Regions from separate parts of the Homo sapiens genome. Here region 1 is linked to region 2. The links are contacts of gene promoters, found by promoter capture Hi-C in blood cells and fetal thymus (Javierre and others, 2016). All regions are on one chromosome and are shown on one strand. The core of a region is centred on a gene start or on the middle of the fragment in contact, and the rest is flanking DNA. Distances in the headings are between cores, read along the strand shown.

Region 1 (3,073 bases), core at 379-2,878, 88 kb before region 2:
AAGTGTATCCAGACTGTCAATAACTAAGTAAAAGGGACTGTGTCGAAGAAAAGCCTATGGTCAGGGTTTTATATCAAATGCTATAATCCTGAGTAAGCTCTGGGATACAGGGTTCTGAGTTTCAGGAAGGCCAGATGAAGATGTATTTCCTTCTCTTTATGCACCCAGTCCAGGTGTCAGAGTGCTACATCAAATCCCAGAATGAAAGTGTGTCCCAGGCCAGGGGCAGTGGCTCACGTCGGTAATCCCAGCACTTTTGGAGGCCGAGGCAGGAGTTCGAGAACAGCCTGGCCAGTATGGTGAAACCTTGTCTTTATTAAAAATACAAAAATTAGCCAGTCGTGGTGGCATGTGCCTGTAATCCCAGCTACTCAGGAGGCTGAGACAGGAGAATTGCTTGAACCCGGTTGGCGGAGGTTGTAGTGAGCCCAGATAGGGCCATTGCACTCCAGCCTGGGCATAAGAGCAAAAATCCGTCTCAAAAAAAAAAAAAAAGTGTGTCCCATGGGAAGACATGGAAATTGGCTGGTGCACTGGCAACCAGCCCACTGGAGTTGGTGGTGCGGAAGGAAAGCACAAGAAACCATGTAGAATGAGGCTGGATCTGCCAGGGTGTTCACTAATGTATTTGTTGCCTCTACATTTCCAGCCATGTTTAAGCTTTCTTTCCTGATCGTATTTGAAGTGACATATTGAGAGAACAGATGTAACAGTTTTACAAACTGCCTGGGACATAAGAGCAGGTCAACAGGTATCGCTTGTCTTTTAGGATAGAATCCTTATCGTGAGTTATCAAGTCCCCACATGAAACACTAAGGAATGATTAAAAGCACATTCCTGGCCGAGCACGGTGGCTCATGCCTGTAATCTCAGCACTTTGGGAGCCAAGGCGGGTGATCATCCAAGGTCAGGAGTTCAAGGCCAGCCTGGCCAACATGGTGAAACCCCGTCTCTACACAAAATACAAAAATTAGCCAGGGCACGATGGTGTGTGCCTGTAATCCCAGCTACTCGGGAGGCTAAGGCAGGAGAATTGTTTGAACCTGGGAGGCGGAGGTTGCAGTGAGCCGAGATCGCACCATTGTACTCCAGCCTGGACATTGCAGCGAGATGATCTCAAAACAAACAAATAAACAAACAAAAAACTGCATTCCTCTACACCCTCCAGTAAGGAGGAGGCAGCCACAGGGTTTGATTATGACAGTCACTATCTATTCAGAGTTAGATATTTGGTTCATAGGAGTCTCCTTATCTAGTATTGCATCTGGAATGAATGAACTCTGAGGTATATATGAATGATTCCAGGCTCAGCAGTAAGTATTGATAATTAGTGAGCTCCTCTTTAAATGGATTTTCATCAGAGGTCCCTTCACATGGATTGTGTGTTATGAAATGCTTTTGACTATGGGGAGATGACAGAGAGCCAAGGAAAGTCAGTCAGTCTTTGGCCAAAGCCTTTGTGAGACCTAAAGAGTGAGAGGGAGGCAGAAAGAGCAAGTGAGCGTGAGACAAAAACAAGTGTGGGGTGGGGAAGAGGTGAAGGAAGAGTGGACACACACCCTTTGGCCAGCTCTGGCTTTAGGATGCCAGCCAGTGTCTCCTAGCCCGGGGACCTTTCCTCTGGAGATCACAGATGGGAGAGAGAAGGAAGTGATTCTTGGTATTGAGCTCAAATAGATACTTAAAATTATGTAGACTAAATCGGATAAAACTTGAATCTTCTTTTCCCACTTAGATTTGGTTTCAAAACCAGAGAAGACACCTGAGGCTGAGCTGGCTGCAGTGTGGACACTCCTCGGGAGGACAGCAGCTCCAAGGACACGAGAAGCCTCAGCCCTGGGCCCCAGGTGAGTCCCCAGCAGTGCCAGTGCACTTCCTCAGTGCAACTCTTTGAAGTAGAAATGTCTCTTTAGGCTGTTTCCAGATTTGTTGCAAGAATGCTGATGTCTCTTCCACAGCATGCTAGTGTTGGAGATGTGACCACCATCCCCATCTTGTGGGAAGGTAGTTTGGAAGAAGGGAAGGCCATGGATCTTCCAGTCCTGGTGTGGCAGGCAGTGCAGAGTCCTCTTCTTCCAGCACTGCAGGGGTTTAATCCAAGGGCATGAGCATCTCAGGGGCCTGGGAGGGAGTAAGGATGGTGAGAACAATATTTGAAAATGTCTGTCGTAGGGTTGATGTGAAGATGGCCTGAAAGCCCTCTTTTCTTCCTGTTTTCCTACAGAATGCACTGTCCTGCAGGCACCACAGACACCAGGCAGTGGATACCTTTGCTGAATCCTAAGGAGCCAAAGCATTTTTATGACAAACATGACCTCCTCCCTGCAATCGTCACATCCTGGGTAGTCTGGACAATGCATAAACCAGAACTGAACCAAGGTGAAAATAGGTAAAAGAGACACATCCACACTTCACTCCCTTTGGTGAGTTCACAGGGTGAGCCTGAAGGCAGACTGACGCAGAGAAAACAGGGGTGCTATATTTCATCTTGATGTCAGTTCATCACAAAGAGTTTGCATCTTAGCTCTTACCAGAGGAGATGGGAACTAGAAGTTACCTCACTATCTATCTACCAATGATTGGTAACACAAGCTTAGATGCATAATACCGGATAGTGTTCACATGTAATCCTCCCTTTAAACATGTAGACAGAGAACATGACAAGGAAATGCAAAACAACTCCATGAAATCACTGAACAAAGCAGGATGTTCATCTTCTGATACTATTAGCATTTTGTATATATTTACATGCACCTCTATGCACAAAGCTGCCCATTTTGTTATAAATAATTTTTGTCAAGTTCAAGCCTCTTGGTTGTCTTTGTCTGTCTCCTCTTTCCCATTCAAGTGGTACCTTCCGAGAATACACCACAGATTACCAAGCTATGTCTGCTTCCACCGGTGCCTTAAAAATATCCTTAAAAAGGAAATGTGATTTATTAAGATATCTGTCTTTCCCACAGTTCCTTCATTCATTTGTGCTATCTCCTTTCCATGTGAACCTGTGGGACCAGTCAGAATGCCTTGCTCTAGTTCATAGCTTGTATCTGCAAAGATGCCAGTCTGTTATTAC
Region 2 (3,141 bases), core at 415-2,914:
AAAGACCTTTACTCCTCTCTTTTCTTACAGCATTTCCTTAAGAAAACTTGTAATTGTAAATCCCTTCTCTGTCCCTGTGAGATATAGCAAAACTTTTTAAAAAGTAAATAAGCTTCTTGCTAGTTTAACAACCCAGGAAGGTCTTTCTTAATGGCCTTGGGTCATGTCTTTGAAATGTAAGCATCAAGGAAGATTGCACCCCATCTCCCTGCCTCTGTGGTAAACTCCTAGGCTCCTGGCTACCCGCGGTTAACTACCTGCGTGTCATAGAGATACCAGAAACTTTACTTTTCATTTGCATAATGGCAATTAACTAACACTGATGGCTACCCTAATTATCAGGTGAATTTCAGATGAATTATGCATAGCAAATGTTGCTGTACAGTCATCTTACTTGAGGACAAGTTATTTTTACCTTGAGGAAATAGAATGCGTTGTACCAGACCGGCTAATACAAAAAATGATAGTTCTTCCTGTCTTCATAAACTCATTAGTGGGTTGCCTGTGACGCACATCGCAGTCTGGTTTAATGTTTATTCAATAATGTAACTGTTTTGTTCTTTTCTCCATCTGTGGAGAGAATTTTCTGGGTTGGCAAGAGGCTTTATTTTAAATTATTTCCTCAATACTTCCCATCCAGAAAGGTGGTGTGTGTGTGTGTATTATGTGCGCATATTTTTATATGTATATATATGTGTGTTTATACACATGACAATATATACGTTTTTTTCTAGATGATTCTACATGTTTTAATGTAATAAAGTTATTGACCAGGAAATATATAATTTGTTTTACATATACAGCCAAGTCCTCTCTCTGTATCCGCGGGGGATTAGTACCAGGACCTCCCTGGATTACTCAAATCCAGGGATGTTCAAGTCTCTGGTAGAAAATAACCTGATATTTGCATAACCTACACACCTCCTCCTGTATATTTTAAATTATGTCTAGATTAATTGTACACCTAACACAATGTAAATACTATGTAAATAGTTTTATTGTATTGTTTAGGGTATAATGACAAGGGGGAAACTTTGTACATGTTCAGTAAGATAGAATTTTTAAGTATTTTCATTCTGAGCTTAGTTGAATCCATAGATATGCACCCCCAGGATAAGGAGGGATGACTATATATATTCCTTAGTGAAATGATAGTCATGATACTCTATACCATTAGGTTAAAATTTGTGTAAATTCATGAGAAGGATGTTCACCTAACATTAAGCGCTTTTGCTTTTGGGAAGTGGTATACTCGTTTTCTGTTTTAGCTTATACATATTTTGTAGTTTATTACGTTTCGCGTACCGTTTGCACAATTGTGAAAGCTAGCATTCCTAAGAGGAAGCGGTTACAGGGCATTATCCTTCATTACTCCACGTACTCCTGTACCCACGGAGTTCAATCACTTTAACAAAACTGCCCATCAGTGTTCCTTGGAGCACCTCACGGTGGATTTCTGTCTTCAAGCCCAGACGTGCAGGGTGCAGCTCTCCGGCCATCACTGAGCAAGGACAGCGCCCTCTCCCGGAAACCCGACAGCAATCACTCAGGCCGCTGGAGGCGGCCGCGCCTCACGACGTCATCCAAGATGGAGTCGCAGCCGGGCCTTCTGGGAAGCGTAGTTCTGGAGTAGGGCTAGGGAAACGTTCTGCGCATGTGCAGTGTCTTCTTTCTGGCATTGGCGTTTTTTTGGTCTTACGCCCTAGGGTGGGGAGAGGACTCCGGTGCCTCCGGGTCTGGGCTGGGCCGCAAAGGGCGGGGCCTGGGCCCGGCGCGGGCCGGGAGCAGAGGCCGAGACCCTGCAGGTGTGTCGAAGGCTTTTGCGGGCGGGCAGGGCCTGGGAGGCGGGGTCTCGAGCCTGGAAGCCGCCTCCTGGCCCCGGAGCGGCCTCCGCGGAGGGCCCTGGGTGGGAGCCGCCTGGTGGGGAGGTTGGCTGGCTGCGCTGGCGCCCCTGCCCGGAATGGCGTTTGCGCGACCTGCTTGAGGGGCGGCCAGAGGAGGCCTGCGGTGCTGGGCAGTGGGCGCCCGGAGCAGCCGCATTGTGTGACGTGACCGGAGCCGCCATGTGAGGCGCGCTGGCCGCTGCAGACGCGGCGCTCCAAAGCCGCAGGGACGTGGGCTCTGGTCCAGCGTCTGTAGGTGGTCCCAGTGCGGCTCGACGCGCATCTGGCAAATGATGGGGGCCTTTGGGTACTGAATAGGGTAATAGATGTAAAGTATGATACAGGACTCAATAAAGGTGAGCTGCTTCTATTATTACAAAACATGCTGTTTTCATTATTGGCTCATTTAATCATCGTAACCATCCTTTCGACTTAACCATCTCTATTAAAATAAATGTGACTATTAAAGATTCAGAGAGAGAAATCCGTTTACCCACAGTATTAGCAGGTGGGATGTAAATCCTCACTTTTTCCTCTGAGTTAATGCGCCTTGCCACACTAAAATCCAGTCTTGACTTGTATTTAGCACAGCATTTGCCCCTTGAGCACCACCAGAACGTAGCTGTGTGGTGTACTTGAACCCAGTCTCAACCAGGTAGTGTTCTGTTTCCAAAAATGCTTGGGGAATCTTCAGAGCACTTGAGTCAAAAGGTGAATTATTTAAGGCCTTCCTGCATCCTCCAACCTTAGTCTCTTCTCAGAGGACTGTGAAACGTGTAAATTGAAACCACAATTTGAGCCCTCAATTTTGCATTTTACAGGAGAAGCTGGGAATCCCATCCAGCCCAGAGGCTAGTTTCTAAAGACAGGAAATGGGACAAAAAATTTTTTTAAAGATGAAAACTGCAGTTCATCAGTTCCTCCATTTTATGGTGGTGATCTTATAATGCCTCTCATTGGCTGATAACTGAGCTTAGGCATTTCGTAAGCACCATGCTAGCTGGAAGTGGTTTTTGCTGCTTATTTTAGTTTTTTTTTTTGGTACATAATGTACATATTTGTGGGGTACATGTGATATTTTGATATATGCATACAATGTGTCATGATCAAATCGGGGTAATTACAATATCCACCGCCTCATTTATCATTTCTTTGTGTTGCAAATATTCGAAATCTTCTAGCTATTCTGATAGCTAATAAATTATTGCTAACACTTGTAACCATACTGTGCTATTGAACACTAGGACTTAATCCTTCT

The links. The method cuts DNA at HindIII sites, captures the fragments that hold promoters and counts their contacts. A CHiCAGO score of 5 or more calls a contact.
Region 1: a contact is called between a fragment that was not itself captured here and the fragment with the promoter of ZNF25 in region 2, in 1 of 17 cell types (neutrophils). The highest score is 5.5, in neutrophils.

Annotation. Positions count from the first base shown.
Region 1 is chr10:38,063,136-38,066,208 of GRCh38, reverse strand. It overlaps a transcript of ZNF33A not described here. Among named protein-coding and RNA genes, the nearest start is that of ZNF37A, 30 kb to the left of the region's middle. The HindIII fragment of the contact is 1,932 bases long and covers 663-2,594 here.
Region 2 is chr10:37,975,170-37,978,310 of GRCh38, reverse strand. It overlaps ZNF25 (zinc finger protein 25), which reads left to right and starts at 1,664. Exons shown (of 6, transcript NM_145011.4): 1 at 1,664-1,805. It overlaps ZNF25-DT (ZNF25 divergent transcript), which reads right to left and starts at 1,556. Exons shown (of 6, transcript XR_930830.4): 1 at 1,306-1,556. RefSeq lists enhancers at 1,421-1,650, 2,691-2,780 and a silencer at 1,691-2,100. The HindIII fragment of the contact is 11,670 bases long and covers 115-3,141 here.